2 separate regions of the Homo sapiens genome follow, and region 1 is linked to region 2. Evidence: promoter capture Hi-C in human tissues and cell types (Jung and others, 2019). All regions are on one chromosome and are shown on one strand. The core of a region is centred on a gene start or on the middle of the fragment in contact, and the rest is flanking DNA. Distances in the headings are between cores, read along the strand shown.

Region 1 (6,879 bases), core at 3,757-6,256, 590 kb after region 2:
TTATGTGGTAACAGCAGCTGAAAATTATTCCTCCACAAATAAACATCTGAACAATCCCTTATCTCTCCTACAGGTTTCAATGAATACCAAAAGTGGGGAGTAAGACTTGAAAGTACTTACATTTCATATTCAAGAAAGAAAAAGGCTATTTGAATTTTAGCCAAAGCCTGAAGTTGTGAACAAGTAACCACTGTTAATTTAAGATAACTTTAATAAATATACAAAAAAAATCAATCAATGACATCATCCATTGGCCATGCTTCTGAAAATAAGCTAGTCAACAACAGCTTCATTCTAGTCTTCTGAAAGTAAGCAAGTTAATGACAGCCCCATGCTTCTAGACAACAGCTGATCAGCAAGTGCCTTGCTCCAATAACCAGGCTTTAGAAAGTCTGTTGGTCAACAGCAGCTTTTTCCAGTGAAATACCACACCCAGGAATATAATCAGCCTTTTTGACTTCTTTTAACCCTGCTGCACCTTTCTAAATAGTCAATTTATTACACTTTTTTCTGCTACGTTATTACTGTTACCCTCTCTTTCCTTCTGTTACACTAAGATTCCAGGAAAAATGTTTCAAAAATGGGTTCTTCTTTTTAAAAATGCTTGAAAAGCATTGCCCTAAATAATGTGAAATATTAAACTTAGTATGGAGTGCTTAGGAAATCAGAAAACTATACACTCTGTATTCTGTATACTATGTCCTAAAGATATAGAGAGATCTCCATCCAAATGTATTAAACAAGCTCTGGTACCTGGACTGGTAAGCTTTAATGCTCAAGACTATCCTTCTGCTGAGTCTTTATTCTGCAAGAGGACCAGTTTGGCAGAGTAGATTATGTCTCTTTTATTCACGTTAAAAATAAAAATGGAGAAGAATGGAAAAAGGCAAAGCAAGATGGCAGAAGAGGACTTTTTAGTGATCTTTCCCCTTGCAGAAACATCAATTTGAACAACTATCCATGCACAAAAATACCTTCACAGGAGCTAAGTGAGTCAGGTGAACCATCTTGGTACTTGGTAATAGCACAATTTTTTCTTTTCTTTTGAGATGGAGTTTTGCTCTGTCGCCCAGGCTGGAGTGCAGTGGGGCAATCTTGGCTCACTGCAACCTCTGTCTCCTGGATTCAAGCAATTCTCCTGCCTCAGGCTCCCAAGTAGCTGGGATTACAGGCACACACTGCCACGCCTGGCTAATTTTTTGTATTTTTTAGTAGAGACAGGGTTTCACCATGTTGCCCGGGCTGGTCTTGAACTCCTGAGCTCAGGCCATCCGCTTGCCTCAGCCTCCCAAAGTGCTAGGATTACAGGTGTGAGCCACCATGCTGGGCCAGTGATAGCACAATTATTAAAAATATGCATTGAAGGGAGTAGAAAGGACAGTTTCACATTACCCATGTCACTCCTTTCCCAATCCCAGGCAGCAAAGTGAAAAGATAGCATGAAATTGCAGGAAAGAGAAGTGAGCCTAGGACTTTGTCTTCAAACCTAAAATTAGGTAGCACCAGGCAGACCTCCCACAACCCCTGACTTTAGGGGAGTACCTGCAGACCGAACCTCCAGACGTGCCCTGGCATCAGCAGGAACGCATAGCTTCTATTAGGTGAGATCAGTCTGCTGTATGCATCACTGACAGCTTACTACAGTGGCCTTGGGCTCTGGACAACCCCCATTGGAAGGCAGACTTCAGCAGCTGTGAGTTTCAGGCACATCCCAGCTCCATGATATCCTCAGCAGACATGAGATTCCAGCCTGGCATCATATGGCTGCAGTGATCCCAGGATTAGGGCATCCCTCAGTGTCTCAATGGTACTTCAGTGGTACCAGGTTTAGAGAGCATGCCAGATGATATACCTAGAATCTCTGCTCAGACACCAATGAACAACAAAGATCAAGAATAATCAGGGAAACATGATATTACCAATGGACAAAATAAAGTGCCAGTGACCAACCCTAAGGAAATGGAGATGAATGAATGTGCTTCCTGACAAAGAATTGAAAGTAACCATTTTCAGCGAACTTCAAGAAAATACAGAGAAACAATTCAATAAAAAGAAGACCATAAGTGATCAGAACAAGAAATTTAACAGAGAGAATGAAATGATAATAAAAATCAAATAGAAATCCTGGAACTGAAAAATATAATGAACAAAATGAAAAATGTCACAGAGAATATAAACAGCAGAATTGATCAAGCAAAGAAATAATCTGTGAACTCAAAGGCAGGTTATTTGAAAATAAACAGAAGGAAAAAAGGAAAAAGAATGAAAAGAAATGAGGAAAACTTACGGAATTTGTGAGAAAGTATCAAAGGATAAAATATTTGAGTCCATAGGAGTTAGAGAAGCAGAAGAGAAAAATAAAGGGACAAAAAGTGTATTTAAAGAAATGATAGCCAAAAAACTTTCCAAACCTGGAGAAAGGTATAAATATCTAATTACAGGAAGGTTAAAGGTCTTCAATCAGATTCAGTCCAAATAGGACTACTTCAAGACATATTATTATCAAAATGTCAAACATCAAAGATAGAGAGGATCCTGAAAGCAGCAAGAGAAAAGAAGCAAATAACATATAAAGGAATTCCAATACACATAGCAGCAGACTTCTCACTAGAATCTTATAGGCCAGGAGACTGGGATGATATACTCAAAGTGGTGAAGGGGAAAACAACAACAACAACAACAACAACAACAACCAATTAGAGTATGGTACCCAGATAATCTGTTCTTTATAAATGAAGGGTCAGGCATGGCAGCTCATGCCTATAATCCCAGCACTTTGGGAGGACAAGGTGGATGGATCACTTGAGGCCAGAAGTTTGAGACCAGACTGGCCAACATGGCAAAACCCCATCTCTACTAAAAACACAAAAAATTAGCCGGGTGTGGTGGCATACACTTGTAATCCCAGCTACTCGGGTGGCTGAGGCAGGAGAATCGCTTGAACCTGGGAGGCGGAGACTGCAGTGAGCCATTATCATGCCACTGCACTCCAGCCTCGGTGACAGCATGAGACCCTGTCTCAAAAAAAAAAAAAAAAAAAAAAAAAGAAAGAAATGAAAGAGAAAAAGAGAAACACTTTCCCACACACAAAAAAGCTGAAGTTTATCATCACCAGACCTGTCTTACAAGAAATGCTAAAGACAGTTCTTCAAGCTGAAAGAAAAGGATGCTAATGAGTAACATGAAAACATCTGAGAGTATAAAACTCACTAGTAAAAGCAGGGACACAATCATATTTGGAATATTATTATACTGTAATCATGGTAAAAAAAGATCACTTGTACCTTTAGTGTGAAGATTAAAAGACAAACTATTAAAAATAAATATGATAATTTGTTAAGGGATGTTGAACACAAGAAAGATGTAAATTATGATAAAACTCAGAGTCAGGGGTAGTGGAGTAAAAGTAAAGTTTTTTTTTAATTGAAGTTAATTTGTTATCACCTTAAAATATCTTGTTTTGATTATAAGATTTTTTTTGGTAAGCCTCATTGTGACCACAAAGTGAAAACCTATAGTAGATGTGCGCAAAAAACAAGGAATGAAAACATACTACTAGAGAAAAACACTTAATCATAAAGGAAGACAGTAAAAGAGAATGAAAGGAACAAAGAATCTACAGAACAACTAGAAAACAATAAGTGAAAGGGCAGTGGTTAAGTCCTCATCTATCAATAATTACCTTGAATGTAAATATGTTAAATTATCCAATCAGAAGACACAGAATGGCTAAATGGATTTTTAAAAAGAAGAGACCTAAGTATATGCTGCCAATGAGAGACTCACCTCAGCTGTAAGGACACACATAGACTGAAAGAAGGGATGAAAAAAGATATTACATGCACATGGAAATCAAAAGTATTAGATGTGTATTACATGAGTATTAGACAAAATAGGCTTTAAGTAAAAAACTGTAAAATAAGATGAAAAAGGCCATTATATAATGATAAAGGGCTTAATGCTGCAGGAGGATATGATATGACAATTATAAATATATATGCACCCAACATTAGAGCACCTAAATATACAACACATGTATTAACAGATTTAAAGGGAGAAATAGACAATAATAGTATGTACAGTAGCAGTATAGGACATTAACACCCCACTTTCAGCAATGGAAAAATCATCCAGACAGAAAATTAGCATTGAGACATTGGACTCAAACTCTGCTTTAGACCAAATAGACCTAACAGATGTATACAGAGCATTTCATTCAAGAGTTGCAGAATTTACATTCTTCTAAAGTGCACATGGAACATTATCTAGGCTAGATCATGCGTTAGGTCACAAAACAAGTCTTAACAAATTTAAGAAGATTGAAATCATATCAAGTATCTTTTCTGACCACAGTGATACAAAACTAAAAATAACAGGAAGAACTCTGAAAAATTCACAAACACATGAAAATTGAACATCTTGAACAACCAATGGGTCAACGAAGAAATTACAAGTAAAATTAAAAAATGTATTCAGGCGAATGAAAATGGAAACACAGCATACTAAAACTTCTGGGATGCAGCAAAAGCACTTCTAAGATGGAAGTTTATAGCAATAAACACCTACATCAAAAAAGAAGATCTCAAGTAAACAACCTAATATTTTACTTCGAGGTCTTGAAAAAAGAATAAACTAAGCCCAAAATTAGTAGACGGAAGGAAATAATAAACATCAGAGCAGAAATAAATAAAATAGAGACTAGAAAAACAATAGAAAGGATGAAAAAACAAAGTGTTGGTTTTTTTTTTTGAAAAAAGATGAAATTAATAAACCTGCCAGTTGGACTAAGAAAAAAAGAAGACTCAAATCAGAGAGGAAAAAGGAGACATTAAAACTGATAACACAGAAATATAAAGGATTATAAGGCTATTATGGACAATTATACCCCCAACAAACTGGATAATCAAGAAGAAATGCTAGCATGAGTACATTCCATCCCCCGGCTCCCGGCCACCCCAGCCCCGCCAAGTCTCCATTGCAGTTAAAGCCTTGGCAGGCACAGAGCCTGCCAGCCGCACCCCCGCCCCCACCAGCACCCCACCCCTGTGACAACACTGCCATGGGAGTGAAACTAGGCACAGAGAAGAGTGGGCCTTTCCCCACCCTGAGCAGCCATCTCCACCTGGGTGAATGCTCATGGAGGGTGCGCCCAGTCCTATGCCCACCAGCACCCTGCCCCCTGTGCTAACCACACCACCAGCACCACTGTGCACATAGTTGCCAGAGGTACCCTCAGCCATGCTGCCTCCATTGCTACTGTGAATGCCTTCTCAGAGGCCAGCACCCAGCACCCGCCAGTACCCTGCCACAGCGGAGAAGAAGTCCACCCTGCTCTGCTGCTGCTGCTGCCACTGCTGCTGGCACATGCAAATGAGAACAGATCCTGCTGCTGCCACCATACAAAAAGCTTTGAGTGGCACCATCCATCAGAGTGCTGTGACACAGTGGTCCCGGAGCACTGCGGCACTGCCAGTGCAGTGATTTCCTAATCCCAAGAAGCCAGAGAACAAATTCTCGGGACTGATAACAGTTCCCCAGAGTTAGAGCATGCAGTCCAGGAGTTGTGAGCTGAGCCATGGCTCCTTTAAATCTTCCATAAATGAAACCAGCTGACTGAAACCATCTTACACCACAATCAAATTCTCTAGTTCATCAAATAGGATAAAAGGACAGCGACTTTAAAGACTGAAGGAGCATCAGCCCAGGAAGATGAGAAAGAACCAGCTCAAGCATTCTGACAACTTAAAAAACCAGAGTGCTATCTTTCCTCCTAACAACCACACTAGGTCTCCAGCAAAGATTCAGAACTGAACTGAGATGGCTGAAATGACAGAAATAGAATTCAAAATAAGGATACAAATAAAGATCACTGAGATGCAGCAGCATGTTGAAACCCAATCCAAGGAAGCTAAGAATCACAATAAAATGATACAGGAGCTGATAGACAAAATAGCCAGTATAGAAAAGAATGTAATTGACTTGTTAGAGCTGAAAAACACACTACAAGAATTTTATAATGCAATTACAAGTATTAGTGGCAGAATAGACTAAAATAAAGAAAGAATATCAGAGCTTGAAGATTGGCTCTCTGAAATAAGACAGACAATAACAGAGAAAAAGAATTAAAAGAAATGAACATTACCTTCAAGAAATATGGGATTATGTAAAGAGATCAAATCTATAACTCACTGGTGTGCCTGAAAGAAATGGGGAGAATGGAAGCAACTTGAAAAATGTATTTCAGGAAATCAGCCATGAGGACTTCCCCAAACTAGCTAGAGAGGCCAAACTTCAAATTCAGGAAATGCAGAGAAGCCTAGTAAGATAAGTCACAAGAAGATCATACTCAAGACATGTAATCATCAAATTCTCCAATGTCAGAATGAAAGAAAAAATGTTACAGGCAGCTAGAGAGAAAGGTCAGGTCACCTAGAAAAGGAAGCCCATCAGACTAACAGCAGACCTCTCAGCAGCAACCCTACAACCCAAAAGAGATTGGGGGCCAATATTCAACATTGTTAAAGAAAAGAAATTCCAGCCAAGAATTTTATATCGGCCAAACTAAACTTTGTAAGCAAAGGAGAAATAAGATTCTTTTCAGACAAGCAAATGCTGAGGGAATTTATTACCACCAGACCTGCCTTACAAGAGCTCCTAAAGGAAGCAATAAATATGGAAAGGAAAAACTGTTATCAACCAGTACAAAAACACACTTAAGTACACAGACCAGTGACACAATAAAGCAATCACAAACAAACCAGCATAATAACCAGCTAACAATACATGACAGGGTCAAAGCTACACATATCAATACTAACCTTGAATGTAAATGGGCTAAATGCCCCAATTAAAAGACACAGAGAGGCAAGCTGGATAAAA
Region 2 (6,375 bases), core at 2,984-5,483:
GATTCAATGTCAAATGATACTCAAGGAGGACCTGGGCACACACATTCCTAGACAGGAGGTGAGACAGCTGCCAGCAAACACTCTCACTCTAAACCCTCTCACCACTGGATTCATCTCTGATGTTGCTGAGTGCCTCTGGGAACAAAACCCAGTGCTGGGCCAGGGGTGGGGTGGGGCTACAAAGCTCCTACCCTCAAGGAGCTTCAGTCCAACAGAAAACACATATATGAATGCTATAATATAATGAGAAGTCAGATTTTATAAGACAAGTACAGATAAGGTGTCATGGTAAGGGGTGGTGATTATCTGTGGAGATAAGTGTGGGCTTCCTGGGAAAGGTGATATTGGATTCCATGCTAGACTTTGGGGTGAGCACCTCAGTCACTTGTTTTTTCCCTCAAGGCTGCCCTTGAAAGTCATTTGAAAATTACTCGGCATTGGAGATGGGAGGAGGTAGAGGAAGAGGGAGGAGGCACTTACACAGCCTGACCCAAACCCCTGTGGAATTAATCCTGATTCCATTTCCAAAGTAACTAGGGAACACACCCAGTACATGAGCTGCGATGTGGAAGAAACTGTTCTCAAATGCAGCTCCACCACTCAATGGCCATGGAAACTTCAGCAAGTTAATTAAACTCTGAACTCCCTTTCTTCATCTGTAAAATAAATGATGATTCCTTTCAGGTCTGCTCTGTCACAGTAGGATTAAGAAGATAAACACAAATAACACTAACAAGTGACTTCTGAAATCAGGGACTATGGACTATGTGCTTTACCTGCTGCTATGGTTTGGATATTTGATCCTAATGTTGGAGGTGGGGCCTAATGCGAGGTGTTTGAGTCATGGGTGTAGATCCCTCATGAATGGCTTGGTGCCATCTCAGTAGTGAATGGGTTCTCACTTTGTTAGTTCCCATGAGAACTGGTTTTAAAAGGAAGCTGGCACCACCCCCTTCAGCTTCCTCTCTCTCCACGTGATCTGCACCTGCCTGCTCCCTATCACCTTCCGCCGCCGTGACTGGAAGCAGCCTGAGGCTGTCACCAGATGCCCAGTCTTGAATCTTACAGCTCATAGCAGAGCCGTGAGCTAAATAAACCTTTTTTCTTCATAAATTGCCCAGCCTCAAGTATTCTTTTATAGCAACATAAATGGACTAAGACATCTGCTTTACCACATCTAATGTGCAAAGCCCTCCCAGGTAGGGATGATTTCTATCTCCATTTGACAAAGGAGGAAACTGAGCTGTGGACATTAGATAACTTGTCTAAGGCCATCTAGCCACAGCCTCCTGGCCACTACATGCTAATGTGCTTGCAAGCTGTAATATGTGTGCAGCTGGAAGGATGGTGGCATTATTTCATACACTCCCGATGCCGGATCCTGCACAGATCCCATGGCATTGGTTCAGAAATATAGGTCAGCAAATGTAATTCTGTGGATTTGGAGCCCAATGAGCCAGAGCCCCCACCTGAGCCTCTATGGCTGGGGCAGGAAGCTGCCAGGCTGGCCCAGCAGCAGGATCTGTGGACCAAGTTAGTGCCACTAATGGGCCATGTGGGCAGAATAGCACCTCACACCTCTCTTATTTACAGATTCCTATTTTTAAATGAAATCAGAGGTAAACAAAAACACTGCTGGGGAAAACAATACACTAGAGCAATGGCCAATTAATGTACTTGTCTGCACTCAGAGAAATTATTTTTAACGTCATTTTCCAATAGATTTAGTTGTCTTTACAAGTTCATGAAAAAGTAATTTAACAGAGCAGAATCTGTTTAAGACGCACCTACACAATCAGCTTTTAGAAAAACTTAATGACAAATTTGGTAGGGGGAAAAAAGACATGTTAAGTAACAATTCTGAGAGTAGGGTGCATGCAAACTCTCCCTCAGTGACAGTGTCACAGACAAGGGTTTAGGATGCTCAAACCCTTCCCCTCCTGCAGCCACCAGCTTCCTCCTCTCTTGGCTCCATCTTCCAGTGGTTCCCCGCCCACACTGCCTGCACATCAGAATCACCAAAAGCTTCTAAAAGATAGGATACTGAGCCCCACCCATACAGATTGTGATTGACTTGCTCTGGGGTGGGTCACTGCATCAGTAAGTTTAAGAAGTTTCCCAGGTGAAACCTGTTCCCAAATATTGCAGGGGACGTACTTACACTAAAAACATTTATTCATTGTTAATCTGATATTCACATCTAACTGGGCATCCTGTATTTTATTTGGCAATCCTATTCCCTCTCCCTCGCCCCCTTTCTAAACCGTCAGCAACTCCTGTTAGTTATATCTCCAAAATCTATTTCAAGTCCTTCCCTTGCTCCCCATTTCAATGATTACCACCCTAATCCAAGCCACCATCTGGACTCTGGCATGGTGCCCTGAATGACCTCCCATTTCACTCTCCACTGAGTGACCACATAAATTTCTCGAGTATATATTGAGATCATGCCATTCTTATGCTTAAAACCCTTCAGTGGCTCTGACTGCAGAATAACACTTCAAATTTTAAGAATTGCCTCAATACCCGCATGCCTACCTGCAGCCTCTAAGGCCCTGTGTGATTCCGCTGCTGCTCACCCCTCCAACCTCATCTCAAGTCACCTCTCATTCTGTGCTGAAGCCATTCCGTCCTCTCCACATCCTCTGAATGCAGGGAGGGCTTTCCTGTTTGAGGACCTATGCATATGCAGTTCCCTTTGCCTCCTTAGTCTTCTCTGCGCTGGTTTTTCTCATTTTTCAGCTATTTTTAAATGTCACCCAAAGTATATTACAGTTTATTTCCTCCAACATTTCATAATTGTGCGAATTTTATGTTTATGGCTTTATCCCAAGAGACCCCGTTCAGCTCTGTGGCCTTGCACAAACCATTTCCCAAAGTTAGACATGCCTACAAGATCAAGAGGCTGGGAGTAAGATCAGAGCTTCTCGAAACCATCAGGCTGTTTATCAGCCCCGCCCACAACGTGGCACGGCCTTTCTGCGACATCAGATGCTGAGCTGGACCTCCTCCTCCCCACCCCCTAGTCCTCCCCGTCCTCAGGTGGCGTCTGCGGTCGAGGATGTAAGCATTCTACTCGTTGATTAGTATCGTTTCCATTGACAAACCCCAGACTGATGAAGACCACTTTCAGCTGCAGCCCGCCCCCTCCAGCTTCAGCTTCGAAGACACTATTGCCAGTGGGTTTTCTAGAAGTGGTGATCATGGGCACCAAATTATCCCCTCCCTCTCCCTGCATTCTCCCATTATCGTCTACCCTTGGTTAAATACGCTGAAAAAAGAACTGAAGCGGAGTTAAGTACGAGGAAGCCTTAAAGACGCACTTTCTGGCAGCCCCCCGCCCCCTTTCCCCGCAGTGGAGGCTGCCCCAGGTCTACAGGTGCCGCCTTCGCCCGGCCTCGCGTAGCCCACAGCAGGGGCCGCCCGCCCGCCGAAGTTGAAGGCGCACCTCCCCTTCCCGGGAAGGACGACGGTTCCCCAAAAGAGGCGGAGGGTAGTCTCTCATCTGAACCAGGCGCTTTAATGCCTGCCTGAAGCCACCGCGGCCAGCGTGGAGACCACGCAGCGGGCGGGCGGCTGCAAGCCCTGGGCTCCGAGCGCCTCTCCTGTGCGGGTCCCGCCCCCCTCCCCGCATTCCTCTCGTTCTGCTCCCGAGCCCAGGCCACGCTGAAGGAAGTACTTGGGCAGTCTCTTTCCTGGAGAACGGGCCCGCCGGTTCCGGAAGCCTCTCCTACCCCCAGGCTGGTCACCTCGGACTACCGACCCGGGACAAGAAGTCCAAGCAGACTGCGGCGGAGGTAGGCTGGCCTCAGCCCAGCTCCCCCAGGGTCTCCCCCGGAGCGCCGGCCTCCCAGCACGCGAGCAGCCCCCTCCCACCCAGTCCCGCGGCCGCCTCCAGTCCCCCTGCGCCCGGGAAGCCTCCACCTCGCCCGCCCTGACACCGAGGTCCCAGTATCCAAAGCGCCCCCAGGGCCCCGCCCGCAACAGGGGAAGTTGCAGCCCGCCGCTCTCGGTCACCTTGGCCGTCACCGAGGGGCCTCGCTTGCGGAAGCCCTCGGCCCCCGAAGAAAACACAAGTGCGCCGAGCCCCACGCAAAGCACGAGAGGTAGCAGCAGCCGAGGACCCGGGCCCATGGTGAGCGGTGGCAGCGGCGCTACCGGCACGGGCGCTACCGGCACGGGCGCGACACAGGCTCTGGGACAGCTGACGGGACTGCCGGCCGGCTGCGCCTGCGCGCTCCCGGTTGCGGGGGATGGGGATCGGGCAGTCCGGGAAGGGCGGGGACCCGGGGCGCGTTCCTCCCAAGTTCAGACTCGCGACCCGAACTTGGGATTCGGAGGAGCGCGCCCACAGGGCGCAGCCAGGGCTCGACCGCCGCGCCTTAGGCGGGTGCGGAGGGCGCCAGGGACGGGAGGGAGCCCGGGTTGCCCAGGCGCGGAGCCGGGCGCAGCGGGCTAGGCTGGGAGCACCTCCAGGAATTTACCGCGTAGGCGCGGATTAAACTTGGACGGGAAGACCAGGACTCTCGGGCTTCCGCGTCCGCCCGGCAGCTAGCGCTCCGCGGGACTGGGAACTCTGCAGCCGGTCCCGGTGTGATTGCTGCCGCCTTGGGAGCAGCCTCCGCCGCGGCCGCCGAGTTCCAATGGCCCATTGGAACCTTTTGCTAGGTTTTGGACGCTTAGCAGAACTTTGACATCGCTGGAGGCGTGGAGCCCTGTTGCACTCGAATAATGGCCTCTCTTTGAGATGATTCACGTCTAGGGAACACTGGAAAATGCTGGATTCACAGTGCCCCTTTGCCTTCGAAAAACTTTTACATTGGCTTTAAGTACTTTATTTGGAGGATGATTCTGTGATCTTATCTACACTGTTCACAAGGCAGCACTTACACAGGCCCAGAACCATGGTCATGTAGGATTCTTTCCTGGGGAAACAAAGTAAATAAACTGACTTTTAGGTGTATCTGTAGGATGGATTTTTTACAAACTTAAGAATTATGTTTAGGAAGATTAATGACTGGGGAAGTAAGTTCTTATTATATTTTTAAATGGAAAATTCGGGTTGCAAAACCACAAATTCTGATCTCAACCGTGAAAATAAATATATCAAGGCACTTAAATATTGAAAGAGATGTACCACAACGTTTACAGTAGCTATAGATAGAATTGATAGCTATTGATAGACTTATGGATTTTTGAGGGTTTAAAAAAATTTTTTTTACAGTTTTCTGATTTCCCAGATGTTCTACAATGAGCATATAAGTATTTTATAACATGGAAAGGGTTATTTTAAAACTCATTGCTTTTTGAATTAGAATTTCAAAAGAACTTTTTTGTTTTAGAGTAACAGCCCTAAAATTAACTAAAAATTAGTGGTATTCGCACATAGGTGCCATTTTAAGGGGCTGGTGCCATTACTTTCAAGCCAAGATTTTCCTCGGATTAAGAGATGGAATTTCTAAATGTCAGATGGGATTCCTAGGTGTACCTAAGTGTAGATCTAAAATGACATTGGAACCATTAGAGATAAAAGGAGTAACCACTACTTCTTTGGGGTGAGAAAAAGGAGAAATGCAATTCTGAGCTATTTTTATGATTCAGTCCAGTGAAAGACCTAATGGCTTTCCTCTTCATCCCCACCCCCAATAAGGAAAGAGTCCCCCTTGTGTAGCAAGACAAGGGTATCTCTCAGAGCACTTACCCTACGAGGTGACTGTGAGGTGATTGTATATATTTATCTGTGTTCATTAATTGTTTTTGTCTGTCTGCTATCAGAAGTAAGCAGGGCCAGGGCAGGGATCAGGCCTATATTTATTCCCCTTTGATGACCCAGATCTAGTGCAATGCCTGATATATAGTGATTTCTCAATAACTATTTGTTGAATGAATGAATGTGTCCAACTACTTTTTATGCTACCACCATCTCACCCTCTAGGCAAAGAAATGAAATCTTTCCCAGCTCCCTAGAAACTCCTCTTATACCCTCTGCCAGTTACAAACACTTTTTTCTGCCCAAATTAACTGCAATCCTGACTTTTCTTGTACTATAGTTTAATTTTGTTTTAATTTTATTTGAATAGGGTATTACCGTATGTATTTCTTTTTGCTTAAATTTTTGTGAAATTCATCTATATTTTTGCATATAACTATTTTGGTGGCTAATACAAAGTAGGAAGCAAATTCATTTTTTTCATAAGAATATTCATTTATTTCAGTACAGTTTATTGAAAATTCTCCCCTTTAACTCACCGCTCCATACTGTTCTTCTGTCACAGAGCAAGTGCCCATGTATGCATAGGTGTGTTTGTGGGCACCCTATCTGTCCCATTGGCCTATTTGTCTGTCTTTGTGCCAATACTACATTGTCTTCATTAA

The links. The method cuts DNA at HindIII sites, captures the fragments that hold promoters and counts their contacts. A contact is called where the count stands out against the background at its distance.
Region 1: a contact is called between a fragment that was not itself captured here and the fragment with the promoter of PPIC in region 2, in 1 of the 25 tissues and cell types used here (lymphoblastoid cells).

The regions. Positions count from the first base shown.
Region 1 is chr5:123,624,075-123,630,953 of GRCh38, forward strand. No RefSeq gene overlaps it. Among named protein-coding and RNA genes, the nearest start is that of CSNK1G3, 120 kb to the left of the region's middle. RefSeq lists an enhancer at 4,781-5,282. The HindIII fragment of the contact is 3,840 bases long and covers 3,087-6,879 here.
Region 2 is chr5:123,032,492-123,038,866 of GRCh38, forward strand. It overlaps PPIC (peptidylprolyl isomerase C), which reads right to left and starts at 4,234. Exons shown (of 5, transcript NM_000943.5): 1 at 4,018-4,234. The coding sequence starts at 4,134. PPIC-AS1 (PPIC antisense RNA 1) reads left to right here and starts at 3,431. Exons shown (of 2, transcript XR_001742868.2): 1 at 3,431-3,797. RefSeq lists silencers at 2,930-3,102, 4,411-4,460. The HindIII fragment of the contact is 11,652 bases long and covers 26-6,375 here.